Regions from separate parts of the Homo sapiens genome. Here regions 1, 3, 4, 5 and 6 are each linked to region 2. Evidence: promoter capture Hi-C in human tissues and cell types (Jung and others, 2019). All regions are on one chromosome and are shown on one strand. The core of a region is centred on a gene start or on the middle of the fragment in contact, and the rest is flanking DNA. Distances in the headings are between cores, read along the strand shown. Region 1 overlaps LYPD6 (LY6/PLAUR domain containing 6). Region 2 holds the start of LYPD6B (LY6/PLAUR domain containing 6B). Region 3 overlaps LYPD6 (LY6/PLAUR domain containing 6). Region 4 overlaps LYPD6 (LY6/PLAUR domain containing 6). Region 5 has its middle 33 kb from the start of MIR9899. Region 6 overlaps LYPD6 (LY6/PLAUR domain containing 6).

The links. Contacts are between HindIII fragments. The study calls those that stand out against the background at their distance.
Region 1: a fragment that was not itself captured here is called in contact with the fragment with the promoter of LYPD6B in region 2 in 5 of the 25 tissues and cell types used here (heart left ventricle, heart right ventricle, lymphoblastoid cells and 2 more).
Region 3: a fragment that was not itself captured here is called in contact with the fragment with the promoter of LYPD6B in region 2 in 2 of the 25 tissues and cell types used here (heart left ventricle and mesenchymal stem cells).
Region 4: a contact is called between a fragment that was not itself captured here and the fragment with the promoter of LYPD6B in region 2, in 5 of the 25 tissues and cell types used here (H1 embryonic stem cells, bladder, hippocampus and 2 more).
Region 5: a fragment that was not itself captured here is called in contact with the fragment with the promoter of LYPD6B in region 2 in 2 of the 25 tissues and cell types used here (aorta and mesenchymal stem cells).
Region 6: a fragment that was not itself captured here is called in contact with the fragment with the promoter of LYPD6B in region 2 in 4 of the 25 tissues and cell types used here (H1 embryonic stem cells, lymphoblastoid cells, mesenchymal stem cells and 1 more).

The regions. Positions count from the first base shown.
Region 1 is chr2:149,373,609-149,377,234 of GRCh38, forward strand. All of the region lies in intron 1 of LYPD6 (LY6/PLAUR domain containing 6), which reads left to right. Among named protein-coding and RNA genes, the nearest start is that of LYPD6, 45 kb to the left of the region's middle. The HindIII fragment of the contact is 5,007 bases long and covers 1-3,626 here.
Region 2 is chr2:149,037,222-149,040,747 of GRCh38, forward strand. LYPD6B (LY6/PLAUR domain containing 6B) reads left to right here and starts at 1,478. Exons shown (of 7, transcript NM_177964.5): 1 at 1,478-1,580. RefSeq lists enhancers at 548-607, 1,821-1,870, 1,911-1,970 and silencers at 1,231-1,570, 1,581-1,740. The HindIII fragment of the contact is 10,219 bases long and covers 1-3,526 here.
Region 3 is chr2:149,467,920-149,471,500 of GRCh38, forward strand. It overlaps LYPD6 (LY6/PLAUR domain containing 6), which reads left to right. Exons shown (of 5, transcript NM_194317.5): 4 at 726-856; 5 at 2,764-3,581. The coding sequence ends at 2,931. Among named protein-coding and RNA genes, the nearest start is that of MMADHC-DT, 120 kb to the right of the region's middle. The HindIII fragment of the contact is 4,136 bases long and covers 1-3,581 here.
Region 4 is chr2:149,401,031-149,404,617 of GRCh38, forward strand. All of the region lies in intron 1 of LYPD6 (LY6/PLAUR domain containing 6), which reads left to right. Among named protein-coding and RNA genes, the nearest start is that of LYPD6, 72 kb to the left of the region's middle. The HindIII fragment of the contact is 5,604 bases long and covers 1-3,587 here.
Region 5 is chr2:149,295,742-149,299,461 of GRCh38, forward strand. No RefSeq gene overlaps it. Among named protein-coding and RNA genes, the nearest start is that of MIR9899, 33 kb to the right of the region's middle. The HindIII fragment of the contact is 5,121 bases long and covers 1-3,720 here.
Region 6 is chr2:149,421,254-149,424,887 of GRCh38, forward strand. The region is part of intron 1 of LYPD6 (LY6/PLAUR domain containing 6); the gene reads left to right. Among named protein-coding and RNA genes, the nearest start is that of LYPD6, 92 kb to the left of the region's middle. The HindIII fragment of the contact is 3,728 bases long and covers 1-3,193 here.

The sequences.
Region 1 (3,626 bases), core at 946-3,445, 340 kb after region 2:
GTGTTGTTGAGGAGTCAAGTAAGTGGAGGACTGAAATCCTCACTTGGATTTCATAGCATGGAGGCCATTGGTCATCTCAGCAAGATTGGCTTATTTGGAGGTGTGCTGGTAGAAGCCACACGGTAGTGAAACAAAGCTGTATGTGTTTTTCTTGCAGGTTATTTGTTGCTTTAGTCATGTATTCAAAATATCAATCCTTCATGTAACATTTAATTGTATAAGCTTAATTCTATTATGTAATGTAAAGAGATTAATTGGAATCTAGTTTCTTTAGCTATTTTAGTGAAAGACATTGAAGATAGAAAGTTGCTGTGGGAAACTATTTTTGTGGCTTTATATTTACTCAGTTGGATTTTTAAAGAGGTCATTTTATGGTCCATTCCTGCCCCCATGCAGGAATGAACTGCATGATAATTGATTCATATTGCTTTAAAGGGCAAAGTATTGAGGGAACTTCTTGGGAAATTTAGATTTTGTCTAGCTGATCCTGAGGCTAAGTATCCTTGGAGGCTAAATGGCCAGCATCTTTTCTTAAACTTATGGAAATCTCAATAATGGAAAGAAACCAGGGCAGGGAAGGCTCACATCACTTTATTTCAGAAGTCAAGCATATGGTTTTGTTGACTAAAATACATAGACTGAGAAAAAAGAAAAACAAAGGAAAAAAGTCTCAATTATGTTCAGGTCTGGAGTTTAGGAAGTGTTTTGTGAATACGATGCATCTTATGGCTTTGTATTTGATGTCAACTCAATGTTTAGTCGAGGTTGAAAAGTAGAGTAGATGTGTGACTTTCCTACTTCCTGTGACACAGTGACATCTAGCCCTGGATCCTGGTGCTCCATGATATTGGGAATGAAGGCAACAATTTGAGTATTATCTAGATAGAGCCCAGCAAGTAGTAGGTGCCCGAGTGATATTGTGTTGAATAAAGTTACACTGAAGGGAAGTCTGTCCCTGACAATCTCCCTTCTCTTGTTTGCTGAGTCTTAGGCTCTTAAGAGAAATGATCTATATTAATTTTCTCCTTATTCTTGCATTTAGGAGGTTCTCCTGAGAATCGGAAAGTCCAGTCTATAGTAAGTTTCCCTCTGCTGGTGTCAACAGGGAGGGTTAACATCCTGCTTCACAGGAAGGTAGCACATGTTAGGCTTTTACTATACATGGTTAATATTTTCAGGATGAAATTTGATTTTACAGCATAGTCATATTTATGCAATATGATATTATAATACAATTATGAGGAAAAATAGTGGTTTTGTTTTGTTTTGCATGCAAGGAAATGTGCTGGGATGACCAGGAAAGAAAGCAGTGAAGGAAACAACTTCACTCCCACTATTTGTGGAGCTTGTTTGGTTCTGGCAGGAAGTCAGGGTTTCAGAGGAGATGGGATGTTCAGTTTGGTCCAGGTGATCTTCAGTCTTCAAGGATCTAGAGAGACTTGGGGGTTGTCCATGATTCATCAGAAGAGCTGTTTCACAGACCTCAGGGTTTGTTAAGGGTTAGAATCACAGTGCCTTCGTAAATTTTTCTTAGATGGAGGTGAAGGTATGAGTAGATTTATTCTGAAGGTAGACAAACCAGGATTTACCTTGATTTCTTGAGTATTTTTCATCAGCGTAAATGAACCCAATAAGTAAGTGCCCGTGGGTGGCACTGTGATTTTTGATATACAGTTGGTATCAAACTAATTGTAATGGGTCTTGGCGAGATGAAGTCATGGACTGTGGGAGGTAGGTGGGGTGTGAGTGGGGAACACTTGAGTGAGAGGTTTCTTTTCCTCTGAAGGAATGATGATGATGATAATCATGCCTACTGTTTATTGAATGGGCACTGATGTGGTCCTGCCCTCTGTATTGGCATGACGAAAATAAAGCTCAGCAAGTTCTTATGTGTTCTTTGACCCTGAAATCCCAGTGGTCTAAAAATAGATTTAGAAAATACCTTTCCTAAAGAGAATCAGAAAAATGTTTGGGGTTCTCCCAACATTTTCTCTTTGTATATTCTTGTTTCTCTGTTTATTCTACCATGCTTTTTTGTGGGCCCATTGCTATAACTGTTACCATGACATTTGAAATTCCCAAGTGCTATAAAGAGACAGTGTTGTTATTATTGCTGTTTGTTATTTTTTATTATTGCTGTGATTGCAGGGAGGCAAGGAACTGGGTTTGACAGGTGGAAGGGGGAATTCCAACAAGAGTACGTCTGGGATGATGGGAAGCTGAGGACTGGGATACTGAGAGAGTTAGACAGGATGTGACTAACGAGAACAATGCCATCAATATGCAAAGCATACAGAATTGCGAATCTGATTCCAAAAATGCTACCACTGCAAAATTACAATAGCAGCGTTTTCTTAGTGCATAAGCCAAGTGTTATTTTAGCCTGAGAGAAGGCAGCTGAACTGGAGATAGTGAACGCACCTAAACAAATGTGGCCTGGGATGAAGCTGCAAAAACACAAAAGGGCTGCATGCTGGCATGGAAACCGCCTCAGAGCTGAAACAACAGAAGCTGAAGTTGAGCAGTGTCAGCCCGGGATGTGTGGTTTGCCCTGGGTCTGTTTTGGAGGCCTTGGGAAAACAGCCCTACAGATAAATTCTCCAGATTTGCGGTCTAAAACTGGTACAAAAGAAACAGCTCTGTCTAACTTGGCAAGATTGAAGAGCTTTCTGGTGGTTAACTTGCACTGTGCATATCTATTTGTATGCCCTGCATTTCATCTGAATACTATTAAAATAAATGGAATTAGAAGTCCCTCACCCACGCCATTCTGAGCCCAGAACATTTTTTTTTTCCATTGCCTTCTTAACTCTGCTCAGTAGGGGGGTCTTCCTAGTTTGGAAAAACCACTGCTTGGATGTTCTAGAGGAGGGGATAAAGAACAAGGTCAGATAAACCTAATCTCCTAATCTCCCATCTGTAAAATACTACTAATAATAACTACTTCATAGGGTTGTTGTGAGAATTAAATGCAATTAATAATATTGCAATTTAATATAAAATTCATTATCATTAGATGCCATACATGTGTAGAAGATCTAATAAAAATATATTACTGGGTACTCATTGTGTCTTACCCACTGTTTCACTGTCTTTATATACAATTTCTTATCTGGGATAAGCAACTTAATCCAGGGACGCATGTAAAGCTTATAAAGTGTAGAAAGATTTGAAATCCTCAGAACTGCTGGTAAAGCTCACATGTAACCATTGCTACTGTTCCCTAATTTGGAATCTGGCATTTTGTAGGTGCAGTACTGACTAAATTCATTTAATTAAATATGGAGCAATCCAAAGCTCCCATGTTCTTTTCTCCTGGTTTTATATAAACTGTCTACAGTGCAGTCACCAAACCTTTGCATCTCCTTTGTCACTGGGATCAGGAGATAGCATAAAATCAGACTTCTGCTGTATATGGTTATACATATATGAGCCATCTCACTATAGGGCTCCACTGTCTTAACCAGGGTCTGGACTATTGCTGCTAAGAAAACTGATGACCCCTGGTTTAGAACTTTGTCTAACAACAAATGACTTTGAATAGGCAAGTGGTTTTTTGTGGTGAAGTAGATGACTCTTTTCTTTCTTTTTTCCTTTTTTTTTTTTCTTGGAAACATGCGGAGTGA
Region 2 (3,526 bases), core at 228-2,727:
CATTTTGGCCTTGGAGGTTTAATATATAGTCACGGAAGTGTACTGAAATAGTCATAAGAAGGAATGTTCTCCATACAACTTTAAAGTTGTACAGTGCTTTCTGCAGTGAAATGAATTTTTTCACGGAATGGATTTTTTTAACGAGTCTTGAAATTAACATGTGAGGAGCAGCATGACACATTACCTCGTGTGTGTGTGTGTGTGTGTGTGTGTGTGTGTGTGTGTGTGTGAGTGAAGGCCATTTGTTAAATGGAACACCTAAAAATACCATTGTTTTTGTTTTTGCGGTTGTCAGGGGCCTCAATAAATGCAAGCTGGCTCAGGAGATGCTTGACCTCAGAGGTCTGGAAAGACAGATTAGAAGTCTCAGCAGAGGACCAAACCCAGACCCCACTTCTGCAGAAGTTCTGTACCCAGGTTTCCCCACTGCAGGCATAACCAGCAGCCCCTCAAAGGCCCCAGACCAGCCAACTGTCTTTAGAAATGCAGACCCAGGATCAGCTTTGCTACCAGCCATGGAATCTTGGGTCAGTGGCCCATACTCTGAGCTGTGTTTCCACAGTGCAAGGCTGGCCGGACAGTGTTTTATTTCAGAGTTCTCCTGTCTGTGGCATCTTCAGAAGTTAAAGATTTGCTTGACCACTATAAGGTGCCCTGGGAGTGTAGACCTCCCACATCCCAGCTGCCTGGCTGGCAGTGGGTGGGGAGTAAGCAGTAGAGAGAGGACAGGTGGCCCGGAATCTAACAGCTTGCCTCTGGATTCTCCCTAGTAAGCTTGGAATGATGCTGGAGCAGCTCTGGGCCGAGGGGACCAGTCTAACGCTGGACGCAAAAGACTGGGCGCCACCTAGTCTGTTCATCAGGTATTAAATGCCCTGAGTTTTCAAAGCTCTGGTGATTCAGTAGTGGACGGGTAAGGTTCCTGCCTCTCCTGGGGCTTACCGTCCAGGGGTGGGGAGGACGTCACTATATGAAATTATCTTATTTATAGCTTAATGTCATTATTTAAAAAGGGGGAGGGAATCACTTGACGGGTGGGCAAGGTGGGGACGGGGTTGGATGGAATGGTCAAAAAAGGTCTTTCAGAGTTCTTCCAATCCTGAACTAACTCACCTGCACCCTTGGCCCAATCATTTTCACTCCCGAGGGTCTGCACTCCTCGTTTCTACATTGGTTTTCTAGGAAGAAAGGGGTTGGACCCTCCCCTCTTTAAGCTGGGTGGGGTCCGAATCCCGTGCTTCTTTCACTTCCTGAGCCGGGCTGGCTGGGTGGGAACAGGCTCCTTGCCGCCTCCCCAGCGCTGGCCACTACCACACTGCCGCCCGCCTGGGCCTCCTTTCAACCTCGTGGTGGAGCCCTGCGGTTTCCCAGCGGAGCCGGGCCCGGGGCTGCTCCCTCGCGGGCGAGGCTCACCTGTCCCGGCCCGGCCCCCTCCCGCGCCCCAGGTGGTTCAGGGCAGGGAGGAGCCGCGCCCCGCCCCGCGCGGTAGCAGCCAACGCCGGCCCCAGGCGGGTGCGCTGGGAGCCTGGGCCGGGAGCCGGGTGAGGGCGCCGAGAGGCTCGGTGGGCGCGGGCGGCGAGGTGAGCTGGGCCAGCGCAGCAGGCGGGGGCGGTGGTGGGTTCGGGACGGCTCACCCCGCGCCGGAGCGAGTGCGGGGCCGCGCGACTGCGGCGGGAGATGCGCTGCGCCCCTTCTGGGCGCGCTGGGGCAGCCAGGAGCTCGCGGGGCCGCGGGGCCGCGGGGCCGCGGGGCCGCGGCGCAGTGGCGGGGTCGGGGTCTGGTCGCTGCCTCGAGGCGAGCAGCTGCCAACATCTGGACGGGACGGGAGCAGGGGGCCGGGGCAAGGCTGGAGCGGTGTGGGTCTCTAATCGTCCAGAGCCCTGCGGGGCCAGTGACTTCGGCAGAGCCGAGGGGAGAGGAGATACTGGGGGTCAAACTGCTGGAGAGAGCGCGGAGCTGGGGCTGGGGTTCAAGGCCGATCGTGGGGCCAAGAGCGAGCGTGCCAGCTCCAGTGTTTCCCCCTGCAGCGCTTCACGCGCGACCAGCTTGGGTGCCGCCGCTTCCCTTGCCCCGGCTCTTTACTTTTGTTGTTGAATAACCTACCTTACACATTGGTTAGTTACCTGGGGCTTCTCAAAAGCCGGGTCTGGAGGCTGCTCTGACTCCAGGGGGCTTGGGTTGTGAGGCTTCAGGTCTGTATGCCCTGTGGCGTTTGGGGGGAGCTGGTGGGTGGAGGGGTGCTGTCCACCTCCCAAGGCCAGGGGATCAGAGAGTGGGAAAAGTCTAGAATGCTATTTAAATTCCAGTAACTAGCTGTGTGACCTTGGGCAAGTTACTGAACTGCTCTGAGCCTCAGTTCCCTTAAAGTAAAATAGGTATTATTAATATTATAATCATTACAACAGACTTAGGTTATATGATGTTCATGGAGTACATAGCATACTGCTTGATTTTTCCCCCTTTGTGTTGATGTGGTGATGTGTGTGTTGTGGGGTGGGGGCATTCTTTCCCACCCTGACTTGTTCATGGTTAGGCTTCCTCCAGGATGCCTTACTTGCTGACAGCATCACAGAGGCCAAGATTAGGGCTGCCAGTGCACGGGCCCTGCAGATGGAGGGGGTGTTGTCAGACTGCCCTCATCATTACCCATCGTATTTGTCAGAATTGTTTTCTTTGGGTTGGGTTTTGGTCACTTGAAAATTGCCTTATACTATGTAGAAATTGATTGGGTCACATAAATGAAAAGGTCGAGGGTTTCAGTTTAAAGCTATAGCTAGTTCCAGAGGCTCATACAAGGTTCCAGGGCTAGTTCTCTCTCTTGTATATCTTAGCTGTTTTTCTCTCTGTGTTTACTGGTTCTTAGTATGGACGATAAATAGGACTTGCACCTTCAGGCTTATCTGCTCCTTCAGAGAGAGAGACAGAGACAAAGAGGGAGAGAGAGAATCCCATCTTCTCTATCCGTATAGCAGTCTCTCTCTGTCTCTCTCTCTCTCTCTCTTTTTTTTTTTTTCTTTTGAGACAGACTCTCACTCTGTCACCCAGGCTGGAGTGCAGTGGTGTGATCTCGGCTCACTGCATGCAACCTCCACCTCCCAGGTCCAAGCGATTATCCTGCCTCAGCCTCCCAAGTAGCTGGAGTTACAGGCGCCGGCCACCACGTGGGACTAATTTTTGTATTTTTAGTGGAGATGAGGTTTCACCATGTTGGCCAGGCTGGTCTCGAACTCCTAACCTCAAGTGATCTGCCCGTCTTGGCCTCCCAAAGTGCTGGGATTATAGGAGTGAGCCACTGCACCCGGCCCCTTATAGCAATCTTATTGACATACTGGACCAAAACAGAACCAAGCCATCTCAGCAGACAGGGAGAGGTTTACACAACAGGAATGGGCACATGACCGACTGTGATTGATAGACTGGCCCACCTCTGCTGCAAGGCATGTCGGTAGGGGGCGCAATTCCCAATGAGAAGTCTGACAAAACAGGACATGTTCATTTTACTATCTCTGTCTTTGCTCACCAGCGC
Region 3 (3,581 bases), core at 471-2,970, 430 kb after region 2:
ACATAGAGGGACCTCTGGAAACTCCCATCATGGTCTTCATCTGTTGTCCTAGGAAGACACTGAAATCATGCTAGGGAGAAACGAAGCTCCTCAATTTTGGAAAAATGTTCATTATTGTTTCAGTCTTCGTCTGTAATGCACCCTGGACCCAGCTATGCTCATTGGCACAAAGTTTTAAATTGTTCTGCTCTTGTGAATAGCTGCTTCCCCCCAACACACACACACACACACACACACACACACACACACACACACACACACACACACACCAGCCACTGCTGTAGTGTTTTATCTCCTTGAGGACTACTGTTACCTGCCTAACTCATTTTAACCCTGAGTTCTTTGAACCTCTTTGTCCTTTCATCTTCCTTAAAATTGCTATGACTTATACCTCTTAAATCATCCCCGCAAAACCACTCATCCCCTAAAAATAAAAATCAGTCCAGTGGCAAAATTTGTTGAAAGGCAAGGAGAAACCATTGTGTCTTGGTTTATGGGAATAATGCTGGGCAGAGAAATCAATATTCTTTGAAGGTTGTCCTCCTACCATGGCAAAGTGGAGCTCTCCAAAGAGGTCTTTGGGGTTGGACATAAACTCAAAGCAGTGCACATCTTATGTGCTATTAGCTCTTTTCTGGAATGATAATGCTGACACTCCTGTTATTTTCCTTTTAGGCAGGTTTGGTCAACATTTCCCATCTCAAATATATTTTCTCTGTTGACAGAGACCAGATACTGCTACACTCAGCACACAATGGAAGTCACAGGAAACAGTATCTCAGTCACCAAACGCTGTGTCCCACTGGAAGAGTGCTTATCCACTGGCTGCAGAGACTCCGAGCATGAAGGCCACAAGGTCTGGGCAACAGAGCAAGTGACCAGTACTACATAGCCAGCTGCCTTCTCTTCAGACATCTGCCAGTACTCATGAGCAGATTCTTACTCCCCCGTGAAGGCTGTCTTTTGATTGTCTTTATGCTCTATGAAAAGACGCTTCCTTTCCTGTTTACTCTAAAAGAATACACATTTATACCAGAGCATAGGACAACTGATATAAATTGTGTAAACACACATGAAGAGGGTGTTCAGTGTTATTGTAATAACTTTCTTCACTCAGAGGAAAGTAATAAAGCTACCAGAAAAAAGAGGAGCAAGAGACCAGTTATGTCCATCACAGTGAAGCTTTGCAGATGTACCCAGTTCATTCATCACAGGAGGACCGACGCAATTCAGCTTTGATAACTTTCTGTAAAGTAGGGCTCATGTTGTGACTGGGATGTTAGTTTGGGGAGGGTCTCCATTGGCTCTTGAGTCATTTGATAGGTGATGGAGACCCATCTTGTGTGTTCGCTTAAGCTTCACCTGGTACCTGTAGAAGCCTGTATACGGAAACACATGGTGCCTATGTACAGAAGCACTCAGTGTAAAATGAGCTTGGGAGGCAGCCTTGAAGGGGCATATGGACAATCACAGAAAGGCAGCCTTGCCCTCTATACGTGTGTCTATACATGTCTATATGCTGTCTATACGTGTGACCTTAACATAGCATACTTTGGCCTTTATTTAGCAGCTGAACACTTCTGCAGGTGGCCTTCCTGGTGGTTTGGGCAATGTCCATTCTCAATACCTGGGAACAGCACTGTTTCTTAAGAAGGCAGACACCTAATTTTCAAGCAACCTCTTGAATACACTAATAATTAAAATTTTAAATATAATCTGCCTATTCTGCTCCTGGTTCAAAATGAGTAAAACCAAAGGCTTTCCCTGACCTCTCCAGCAAATTGGACTTGATTCTGAGGAGTTACTGTGGCCTCTTTACCAAGGAGAAAGTTAAGGATTAGAGAAATTGGGTCATATGCTCGGTCACACAGCTGGTAAGTGACAGGCACAGAATTCCAACTCACCTCTGGTTTGGAGTCTACCTCCGCAACATTATACTGACTTCCTGGCACGTGTCACTGTGACTAAAGACTCAAATCCCTGCAGGAAAATGACTGTATAGAATGTTATTAATAACCATCCTATGACTAGGAATCACCTGGGAATCTTGTTAAAATGTAGTCCTAATTCTTTGTCTGGGGCAAGGTTTGAGATTCTGCACTTGTAACAAACTCCCAGCTGATGTTGGAGCTGCTGGTCTGTACTTTGTGTAGCCATGCCCCAAGAAAGTTTTTGTCACTAACTCTGTGGGTTTATTTCTTTCTAATGATCCACGAGTAAGGTGGTGTAAAGCAGGAGTAACTGCATGAATGAAAACCCTTCAAACATTAACTCACCCAATGAGAATGGAGACACTTATGCAAACAGTTCTGTGAAAGTCAGTACTCAAGTTTAAACCACCCGGGTTGTTGCCACTTGACTCTCACTTGAAAACTTGGCAAACGAAGGCTTACCCTCTCTTCCTCAAGTAGTCAGAAAGAGCCTCATGGAAAAACACGGACGAGTTTCTTTATTCCCATTTTAAGGGCGAAAGAACTGAGGCCCAGGAAGGCTATACACCTTTGTAAGAATCGTATGGGTGGAGGGTGTCAAAAACAAAACCTAGCTCTCTTGAAGTTTGGCCTGGGGAGTTTTCATGTTGACCAGATTGCTTCTAGAAGAAATATTATCCCCAGCCTTCCTGAACGTAGAGTTGGCATCTCCTTTATAGATTAGGTAATTTTTACTTGCATCTTGCCATGTGGGCGACAGTGCCTTCAAAAACCCTGCCTCCTTCCAAGACATGCTGGCTTCTCATTATCTTTTTTTCTTCCTTTCTTTCAGGTCTGCACTTCTTGTTGTGAAGGAAATATCTGTAACTTGCCACTGCCCCGAAATGAAACTGATGCCACATTTGCCACGACGTCACCTATAAATCAGACAAATGGGCACCCACGCTGTATGTCAGTGATAGTGTCCTGCTTGTGGTTGTGGTTAGGGCTCATGTTATAGTGGCTCAGTGGCTCCATGTGTTAATAGCGATCCATGGGGATCTCGATGGTCCACAGACCTGCATGAGTCATTGGCCTGACAGTAATTACACATGTGAGACACAACACTCTTGGAGGTCATCACAGCCAAGCATTGCCACTTACCATGAGGAATAAATGTTGCTTCATTGTAGCCATTTTGAGTCTAACCGAGACTCATCAAAGCCTTCTGTCAGTACAGCCCAAGTTCCATACCATAAACGTTTGTTTTCATTCCAAGAAGTAGTTCTGCATTTATCGAGATCTGGGGTTCTTAATTTGGAAGAATACATGCATGAGATGCAGTAGGTCCTGAGACTGTAAGATATTAGGAGTATGTTATAGGGGCATGTATAGATGTGGGCTTTTCAGGAGAAAAGTAACCATTGGTTTAAATATAATCATGAGTTCATTTGTAGCTTTAGAATTTTAAAACATTGACTCCAAACTGAATGGACTATTTCCTTGGAAATTCTGACTGAGTCCCTGGAAGAGTAGTAATTCCAACAATTCCAGCCATTTGTTCAATTAATTTTCCCAACATTCTTCTCCCAGTGCTGGGAATCACATTTCCTCTGTTCTGTGCAGAAGACAAAAAGGCAATCATAAAAGTTTGTTATATTTGTGGGGGTG
Region 4 (3,587 bases), core at 968-3,467, 360 kb after region 2:
GAAGGCTGAAGGACAAAGAAGGAAAAGCAAAAGTCCAGTGCAAAGCTTTCTTGGAAGGCCTGCTAGTGGCTTCCACTTACATCTCATTGATCAGGAATGCACCATATGTCCATCAGTATGGATCCATCTAGTGGCTTCCACTTACGTCTCATTGATCAGGAATGTACCACATGACCATCAGTATGGTTCCATCCAGTGGTTTCCACTTACATCTCATTGGTCAGGAATGCACCACATGACCACCTGTATGGAATTCTGGGAAGTGTATTTTGGGTCAGGCCGGTTGCCACCCTGAACAAAATTTTTCTATTCATAATGAAGAAGGAGTGATTGGATTTGGGATATGTAAGCAGAAGTGCCAGGCACAGGAGCCTTCACCATTCCCCTCTATCTTTGTTCCAGCTGATTTCTGCTCATCTGGAAGGCTCTGTCTGTGCCATCTCTTCCAGGAAGCCCTCTGTGAGCCCCAGGTGGGGTTAAGTGTCCATTCTTCGAGCATTGATGGTACTCTGTATCCACACATCTCATATTCCCTGTCTTTTTCCACATACACATTTTCTATATCTGGTGGAAATCTCTACTTTAGGAATATTACCTCATTATGCTTGTAAGTGCCTTGAGAGTAGGATTTGTGTCCAATGTTTATTCCCAGATCTTTTATTTTTAGTATTATTTTAATTTAAAATTTTTAAATCTCAATAGGTTTTTGGGGAACAGGTGGTGTTTGGTTACATGAATAAGTTCTTCAGTGGTGATTTCTGAGATTTTGGTGCACCCAACACCCGAGTAGTGTACACTGTACCCACTGCATAGTCTTTTATCCCTTGCCACCCCCCACCCCTTCCCCCGAATCCCCAAAGTTCAATGTATCATTCTTACGCCTTTGCATCCTCATAACTTAGCTCCAACATATGAGTGAGAACATGTGATGTTTGGTTTTCCACTTCTGAGTTACTTCACTTAGAATAATAGTCTCTGGATACCTAATTCATGAGAGGCTTAAAACCTAGATGACGGGTTGACAGGTGCAGCAAACCACCATGGCACATGTATACCTATGTAACAAACCTGCACGTTCTGCACGTGTATCCCAGAACTTAAAAAAAAAAAAGAATAATAGTCTCCAATTCCATCCAGGTTGCTGCAAATGCCATTATTTCATTCCTTTTTATGGCTGAATAGTATTCCATGGTGTGTGTTTGCGTGTGTGTGTGTGTGTGTGTGTGTGTATTACATTTCCTTTATCCACATGTTAACTGATGGGCATTTGGGCTGGTTCCATATTTTTACAATTACAAATTGTGCTCCTGTAAACATGCATGTGCAAATATCTTTTTCATATAATGACTTATTTTCCTCTGGGTAGATACCTAGCAGTGGGATTGCTGGATCAAATGGTAGATCTATTTTTAGTTCACTTAGGAATCTCCACACTGTTTTCCATAGTGGCTGCACTAGTTTACATTCCCACTAACAGTGTAGACGTTTTCCCTTTTCTCCTTGGCATCCATGCCAACATCTGTTATTTTTGATTATGGCCATTCTTGCAGGAGTGAGTTGGTATTATATTGTGGTTTTGATTTGCATTTCCCTGATGACTAGTGATGCTGAGCATTTTTCCATATACTTGTTGGCTGTTTGTGTATCTTCTTTTGAGAATTGTCTATTCATGTCCTTAGCCCACTTTTTTTTTATTTTTTTATTTTATTATAATTATACTTTAAGTTTTAGGGTACATGTGCACAACGTGCAGGTTTGTTACATATGTATACATGTGCCATGCTGGTGTGCTGCACCCATTAACTCGTCATTTAGCATTAGGTATATCTCCTAATGCTATCCCTCCCCCCTCCCCCAACCGCACAACAGTCCCCAAAGTGTGATGTTCCCCTTCCTGTGTCCATGTGTTCTCATTGTTCAATTCCCACCTATGAGTGAGAACATGCAGTGTTTGGTTTTTTGTCCTTATGATAGTTTACTGAGAATGATGATTTCCAATTTCATCCATGTCCCTACAAAGGACATGAACTCATCCTTTTTTATGGCTGCATAGTATTCCACGGTGTATATGTGCCACATTTTCTTAATCCAGTCTATCATTGTTGGACATTTGGGTTGGTTCCAAGTCTTTGCTATTGTGAATAGTGCCGCAGTAAACATATGTGTGCATGTGTCTTTATAGCAGCATGATTTGTAGTCCTTTGGGTATATACCCAGTAATGGGATGGCTGGGTCAAATGGTATTTCTAGTTCTAGATCCCTGAGGAATCGCCACACTGACTTCCACAATGGTTGAACTAGTTTACAGTCCCACCAACAGTGTAAAAGTGTTCCTATTTCTCCACATCCTTTCCAGCACCTGTTGTTTCCTGACTTTTTAATGATTGCCATTCTAACTGGTGTGAGATGGTATCTCATTGTGGTTTTGATTTGCATTTCTCTGATGGCCAGTGATGGTGAGCATTTTTTCATGTGTTTTTTGGCTGCATAAATGTCTTCTTTTGAGAAGTGTCTGTTCATGTCCTTCGCCCACTTTTTGATGGGGTTGTTTGTTTTTTTTCTTGTAAATTTGTTTGAGTTCATTGTAGATTCTGGATATTAGCCCTTTGTCAGATGAGTAGGTTGTGAAAATTTTCTCCCATTTTGTAGGTTGCCTGTTCACTCTGATGGTAGTTTCTCTTGCTGTGCAGAAGCTCTTTAGTTTAATTAGATCCCATTTGTCAATTTTGGCTTTTGTTGCCATTGCTTTTGGTGTTTTAGACATGAAGTCCTTGCCCCTGCCTATGTCCTGAATGGTAATGCCTAGGTTTTCTTCTAGGGTTTTTATGGTTTTAGGTCTAACGTTTAAGTCTCTAATCCATCTTGAATTAATTTTTGTATAAAGTGTAAGGAAGGGATCCAGTTTCAGCTTTCTACACATGGCTAACCAGTTTTCCCAGCACCATTTATTAAATAGGGAATCCTTTCCCTATTGCTTATTTTTCCCAGGTTTGTCAAAGATCACATAGTTGTAGATATGCGCCATTATTTCTGAAGGCTCTGTTCTGTTCCATTGATCTATATCTCTGTTTTGGTACCAGTACCATGCTGTTTTGGTTACTGTAGGCTTGTAGTATGGTTTGAAGTCAGGTGGCGTGATGCCTCCAGCTTTGTTCTTTTGGCTTAGGATTGACTTGGCGATGCGGGCTCTTTTTTGGTTCCATATGAACTTTAAAGTAGTTTTTTCCAATTCTGTGAAGAAAATCATTGTTAGCTTGATGGGGATGGCATTGAATCTATAAATTACCTTGGGCAGTATGGCCATTTTCACGATATTGATTCTTCCTACCCATGAGCATGGAATGTTCTTCCATTTGTTTGTATCCTCTTTTACTTCATTGAGCGGTGGTTTGTAGTTTTACTTGAAGAGGTCCTTCACATCCCTTGTAAGTTGGATTCCTAGGTATTGTATTCTCTTTGAAGCAGTTGTGAATGGGAGTTCACTCATGATTTGGCTCTCTGTTTGTCTGTTATTGGTGTATAAGAATGCTTGTGATTTTTGCACATTGATTTTGTATCCTGAGACTTTGCTGAAGTTGCTTATCAGC
Region 5 (3,720 bases), core at 941-3,440, 260 kb after region 2:
AGGATGACCAAAGGCATGATGTTCTTAAGAAGGAATAAGTCAAGAGTAGTGCTTTCAAGTGTTTGTGTACATAAACACAGAAAACACCTGGGGAGCTTGTTAAATGGCAGATTGTGAGGCTGTAGGTGTATGATGGGGCCTGAGAGTCTGCATTTCTTGCATTTTTCCCAGGTGATGGTGATGCTGGTGCTGCCAGTCCACAGACCACTTTGAGTAGCAAGGGTAGTGCATAAAGGGTTATGCCTTTAATTGAAGAAATGACATTTCTTCAGTTGCCAGAGGAGGGAAGTCAGAGAAGATGGGTAGCTGTGGAGGTGGCAGGGATGGGGGCAGTTACCTGATAGTTTCTAGTTGCTAAGTAAACTCTGAGAGTGAAGGAGGGGGAAGTTGAATAAGACATTTGAGAAGATAAAGGCATAAAAGCTCTCTTAGAGAATACAAATGTAAGCCCTAAAGAAACATAACTAGATTTGGGGGCAAAGTTCAGGACCCATTTGAGGTTTTCCACTATGACTTAACATGAAACCAATCTACAATATTTAGCAGCTTGGGTGCCTACAAGAAGAGGATGGTTGGATCTCTCACTATTATTGAGGTTTTACCAATTGATTGTGAAAGAGGGAGTGAGGGGTTAAAGAGGGGAAGGGGGTCTTTTCAAAAATTATTATAACAATGACCATGGAATCTAAACTTAACTAGAATGGAAGTGCCCTTATTGTTCTTGCCACATGTGTGTCAGTTGAGATAGGAACATTAATTTCTGTGTAGAGACATGTCAAAGTTATTCTGGAAAAAAATACTGGCTCATTATACAAGACATGCTATTATCTTAAAAACAAAAGCACTAATTCTAATCGAGAAATGAGAGGTATCAGATAGCTTTGGTTTTTCTGTTATTCCTGTGTATTTGTTAAGAATATATTTAGGTATAAGAGCAGATTTCTCAACAAATATTAGCCTCAGAGCATCTAACATAACAAAAAATCTAGAACCATTGCTGTTGTTCTTTTAAATAGTTAATAACACCATGCTGGATCCAATCTCTTTGTGTACTTTTTGTCCTCCTAGTCATTACCTCCTGCTTTCAAGATGGCTGCTGCTGCTCCAGACAGCCCTCCTGTGTTCAAGTCAAATTAAAGGAGGAGAGGATGATGCTAACTGTGATTGTCTCTTTTTATCAGAGCTATAAAAGCTTTTCCAGAAAGCCCCAGCAGATTTCCACTTACATTTCATTGGCTGGTCATCATTATGCAAGGGAGGTGGGTGAAATGAATATTTAACTTTTCTACTCTCTATGATAGAGGTTGACAGGGGGAAAAAGTGTTGCGAATGGGTGTGAATCAGCCCACCTACAATATCTGTTTGATTCAGGGCTGGCTGGAGAGTTTAAGTATCTCTGTTTTAGAGCAATCACTCCACCAATAATATCCAATTATATTAAATACACTGTGCTTAATAATAAATAAAGAACTGCCTTCTCTTCCACTTGGCTTTTCTGCTCTCAGCTAGCAATAAGGTCTGTGTTTGAGAAGGAATATGGAATATACTGAGAACTTTTATTCTCTGGGCTTGCAATGGCTCTCTCATCTGGCTTACCTTCCCAAGATAATTCAGTGCTTGTTTAGGAGAAAAATAAAAAGTGAAGAACAACTATGTTGAATTCTAGGGAAGCACTCAATTCTGGATCATCTACCAGAACATGATTTGTTTAAGGATTATACATATTGGAAGGGGAAAGCTACTAACTTCAACTAAATCCTGTGTTCTTATTCCTGAGAGTAATTCACAGGGGTTCTTGGCAGAAAATAGAGGAGTTCTATTACTTCTCAACCAGGTTATTTGAAAGCTGTGTTCTATAATTCACAGGCAGAGAAATGCCTTTAATTCAATGCCATGATAATATAAGACTTTAAGGAATTTTGAGGAATTGTGAGGAAATCACCAGAAAAGCCAAATACATGAACACCAGTTATATTAGCAGAGTCTCTGGGACAAAGCCTCTTACACAAAGCACATGAGGCTCCACATCCAAATGGAAGTGGGAAAGGGGAAAGGGAGACCCTCCCCTTTTATAAAATCAAATCCCCTTTTATGGATTTGATTCTCCACTTGGTTGCTGTTGGTGTATAGAAGAGCTACTGATTTTTGTACATTAATCTTGTATCTGAAAACTTTGCTGAATTCTTTGATCAGTTCTAAGAGCTTTCTGGAGGAGTTCTTAGGGTTTTCAAGGTAAACGATCAGATTGTCAGCAGTGACAGTTTGACTGCCTCTTTACCGATTTGGATGTCCTTTATTTCTTTCTCTTGTCTGTTTCCTCTGGCTAGGACTTCCACTACTATATTGAAGAGGAGTAGTGAGAATGGACATCCTTATCTTGTTCCAGTTCTCAGAGGGAATGCGTTTAACTTTTCCCCATTCAGTATTATGTTGGCTGTGGTTTTGTCATAGATGGCTTTTAATACATTGAGGTATGTCTCTTGTATGCTGATTTTGCTGAGAGTTTTAATCAAAAAGTGATGCTGGATTTTGTCAAATGCTTTTTCTGCATCTATTGAGATGATCATGTGATTTTTGTTTTTAATTCTGTTTATGTGGCGTATCACATTTATTGACTTGCATATGTTAAACCATCTCTGCATCCCTGGTATGAAATCCACATGATCATGGTGGAATATCTTTTTGATATGTTTTTGGATTCAGTTGGCCAGTATTTTGTTAAGGATTTTAGCATCTATGTTCATCAAAGATATCAGTCTGTAGTTTTCTTTTTTGGTTATATCCTTTCCTGGTTTTGGTATTAGGGTGACGCTGGCTTCATAAAAGGAATTAGGGAGCATTCCTTCTTTATCCTGTGGAATAGTGTCAAAAGGATTGCTACCAATTCTTCTTTGAATATCTGGTAGAATTCTGCCGTGAATCCACCTGGTCCTGGACTTTTTCCTATTGGTAATTTTTAAATTACCATTTCAATCTTACTGCTTATAATTGGTCTGTTCAGGGTATCTAATTCTTCCTGAATTAAGCTAGAGGGTTGTATTTTTCAGAAATTTATAGATCTCTTCTAGGTTTTCTAGTTTATGTGCATAAAGGTGTTCATAATAGCCTTGAAAGATCTTTTGTATTTCAGTGGTGTCAGTTGTAGTATCTCCTGTTTTGTTTCTTAGTGAGGTTATTTGGATTTTCTCTCTTCTCTGTTAATCTTGCTAATGAACTATCAATTTTATTTATCTTTTCAAAGAACCAACTTTTTGTTTCATTTATCTTTTGCAATTTTTTGTTTGTTCATTTCAATTTCATTTATTTCTGCTCAGATATTGGTAATTTTCTTTCTTCTGCTGGGTTTGAGTTTGGTTTGTTCTTGTTTCTCTAGTTCCTTGAGGTGCGACCTTAGAATGTCAGTGTGTGCTCTTTCAGTCTTTTTGAAGTAGGTGTTTAGGGCTATGAACTTCCCTCTTAGCACCGCCTTTGCTGTATCCCAGAGGTTTTGGCCAGTTGTGTCATTATTGTCATTCAGTTTGAAGAATTGTTTAATTTTCATCTTGATTTTGTTTTTGACTCAATGCTCATTCAGGAGCAGGTTATTTAATTTCTATGTATTTGCATGATTCTGAAGGTTCCTTTTGGAGTTGATTTCCAGTTTTATTCCACTGTGGTCTGAAACAGTGCTTGATATAATTTCAATTTTCTTAAATTTATTGAGGCTCCTTTTATGGCCTA
Region 6 (3,634 bases), core at 80-2,579, 380 kb after region 2:
GTGGCGCATGCCTGTAATCCCAGCTATTTGGGAGGCTGAGGCAAGAGAATTGCTTGAACTTGGGAGACAGAAGTTGCAGTGAGCTGAGATCATACCACTGCACTCCAGCCTGGGTGACAGAGCAAGACTCCATCTCAAAAAAAAAAAAAAAAAAAAAAGTGTGTTTTTATTTCTTGATGTCCCAGTTTCTGTATCTGTAAAATGGAGTAATAATAATTACCCCTACTACACTGAGTGTTGTGGGGATTACAGAAAGCACCTATGGAAGCACCTTGCACCTACTAGGTTGAGCCATATGAAGTTGCTGTTTTTGTAGGTCGAAAATGATGGGATAGTGGCAATCTAATACTATTCAGTCCTATAGTAAGTGCTCAATAAACGTTAATTGTTGCTGTTATTTTCCATGTAACCAATGTATTTTATTTGAATATAATATTTATATTTGGCAATTTTTATTTAGTTTTAAAGCCATATATGGACTTTAAAGCTTAATATCAGTTTTCTGTCTGTATTCATAAGTAGTATCATAATTAACATTCATTAGTTAACGGAATGGGTGAGGTTCTGTCTGTGAAACCGTTTTCTCCTTTTATAGGAGAAAACACTTTTCAAATTTGAGAAGGTCTGCCCCAGACCTTCCCTAACTAATTTGCTTCACTTCTGCCTGTGTTTTTATCCTCACCACAAGATGCTGATCTTAGCTTGGGATCAGCTAGAAAGTCTGACAGGTGGTGACCCAGGCTTTTGACTTCTTATAATAGAGCTTGGCATGCTATGGCGCCTCTTGGAAGACCTTTCAAAGGTCTTTCTGAATGGAAAGCAAACGTTCCTGGGCAGTGTCTTGACCCAGATGAGTAACCAGGTGCCTTCTTCACCTACTGTGAGCTGATTTTAAGGACTATGTTAGCTAGCAAGCATGTGCTAGCATTGTTCAAAGTGTACTATCTCCTTTAAACCTCCTAAGAGCCCTTTAAACTAGAGGTTTTAATTTCCCTATTTTGCAATTGAGGAAACTAAGGCACAGAGAGGTTAAGCAACCTTCCCAGGAGCAGTCAGCGTGCTAGGCTGAGCTGGCCCACTCCAGAGCCTGTGCTCCTGGACTGTACCACACTGCTTTCGATGCATTACATATTCTCCTTCACAGTAAGCCTAGCAAGTGGGTAATGGGGCCTGGGGTCTCTCTGCTCTGGAGCCCAGCACTTCATGTCCTTGCTGTAGTGGTTCCTGGTCAGCCTGCTTGTGGCTGTTGGGTGTGGCTGCCACACCCATTTGAAATATGTGTACATTGTGAAATGATTAAATCAGGCTAATTAACTTATCAATCACTTCACATACTTAAGATTTTTTAGTGATGAGAGCATTTAAGAACTATTCTCTTAGCAAGTTTCAAGTATATGATACACTGTTATTAACTCTAGTCACCATGCTGTACAACAGATCCCCAGAACTTATTCCTCTTATCTCACTGACATTTTATACCCTTTGACCAACGTCTCCCATCTATCTGTCTTCCCCCATCATCTCCTGACAAGCATCATTCTACTCTTCCTCTGTGAGTTCAACTTTTTTAGGTCCTACATATAGTGAGATCATAGAATACAATGTTTGTCTTTCTGTGCCTGGCTTATTTCACTTAGCATAATGTCCTCTAGGTTCATCCATGTTGCTGCAATTGAATTTTAACAGCTTTTTCTCTAAGCCCTTTTATTTCCAGTGCCCAATAATCAAATAAGTATACCCCTTGTATACTTATTTGATTATTGGAATGAACATAGAGGTTTATCTGATCTTTATAAAATGTAATGGATCCTGAGCTGGGTTGGCAGTTGGAGGCAACACCAAGACAGATAACCATCTGCCCCCACAGGGCAAGGAGGTACAGGGTGACCTCATATGTACCTGGAGGATCAGCTGGACTGCCCTGCCCACCTCCCAGCCTCTGCCTTCCTCTTTCATCAGCACTGTGGGGGCAGCTGTATCTCAGGTGGGATGTGGAGGTCAAGGAATTAGATTGGCCTGAAGCATTCAATAAAGGAAGGTTCTCTTAAAGTAAGCTTCTGGGTTATTTGAATTTTAAAAGAAAACATTTGTGAACCTTAAATACATTTCCAGTTCGTGATGGTATCAGGCTGCATGATGAAGGGGGGAAATTTTGATAGGTGGGATGCAGATTTGGGGTAGATTTTAACCACCCTGTACATTGCAAAATGAGACGATTGCCTACTTTCTCTGTTGAAATTAAGCAAGGTTTAGAGTTGCTATGTTTCTGCTGACTGTGACATGGCACACTGGGCTGAAAAGTGTCCTAGCCAGGGTGGCAGGAAAACGAGGCTGCCCTTGAAGCTCTAATTGTTTACCAGCTTTTTTCTGCGGATAGATACCTGAAATACTCTATGCCTCAATTCCTTCATGTATAAAATAACACACTTTGAATAGGACATTGGTTCCCCAAACTACTCCTCAGAAAACTAGACTAGTTAATAGACGTTCATTAAAAAATAAGCTCTCTGCCGGGGCGGGGGGTGGGGGGTGTCACTGTTCAAATAAGTGTGGGGAAAATGCTGACTTAAGCAAAACCAAAGAGATTTCTTCACTGCAGCACATTTCAGAGCCTTTAATATGCTTATGTGTATTCTGACTCTTAATGCACAGTATTTCCCATGGATGCCTCTGAGTAAGCTTGATTTGGGAGATGTGGGACAGAACCCTTTGCTGGTCCAATCCAGCCCTGATAAAAGTATTACTCAAAGACTTGAAGATTTCCCCGAAAGATGCCATCGTCTCAAGATGGCTTTATCTTCTCACCCTCCTCACCAGAAACACCCCAAATTCTTTTCTTCTTCCAAGTTCCTGTAGCATGCGTACACATGTCAATATGCACACAACACACACACACATCCCTCTGTTATAAAAGCAGTTATTATGATTACTTCTATATCAAATCAACAAATCGCTATCAGAGACCTCCTGTGTCATAGGGGTTGGGGACCTAAGGATAAATCAGATGATGTCCATAAAATTTACGCCCTTAAGGAGCTCAAAATTTAGTAAAAAGTATGTCATCTTAACAGTTCTACTACATGTTGGCAATCATAATAACTAATGAAAGCTATATGTGGTATATTAATTCGTATCTTGTCCCTACGGCATAGAAGCTATCGGTCTCATTTTAGAGATGAGGAAAGAAAAAGTAACCTGTCCAAGGTCATAGACCTAATAAGTGGCAAAGCTGGGACTTGAGCCCAAATCTGTCAAAATACAAAGCCCATTCATTGTCCTTACGAAATAAGGCCTGTAGCCACCTTAGATAGGTAGAGGCCAAAACAGGAGCAGAGAAGGTGGTTTCTAATTGATCTGGTGTGAGGAGAGGGGATGGGAGGCTTTCTAAAGGAAGTGAACTGAGACTTCAGTAGTGAATTGAAGGAAACCAAGGATGACAGCAGGAGCCAAGGCACTGAATGAGAAGCAGCGTGGTGCACTAGACACCTATTCATAGTGGCGCTGTCAATTGAGCTGGAATGTCAAGGGGCAAGTGGTAGGCAGGCACCAGATCATGGGAAGGCTTGTAGACTTCCCCTTCTACCCAGAACCGATGCTTCTCATTGCTGCTGGAGCTCCCACTTTACTTCCTCCC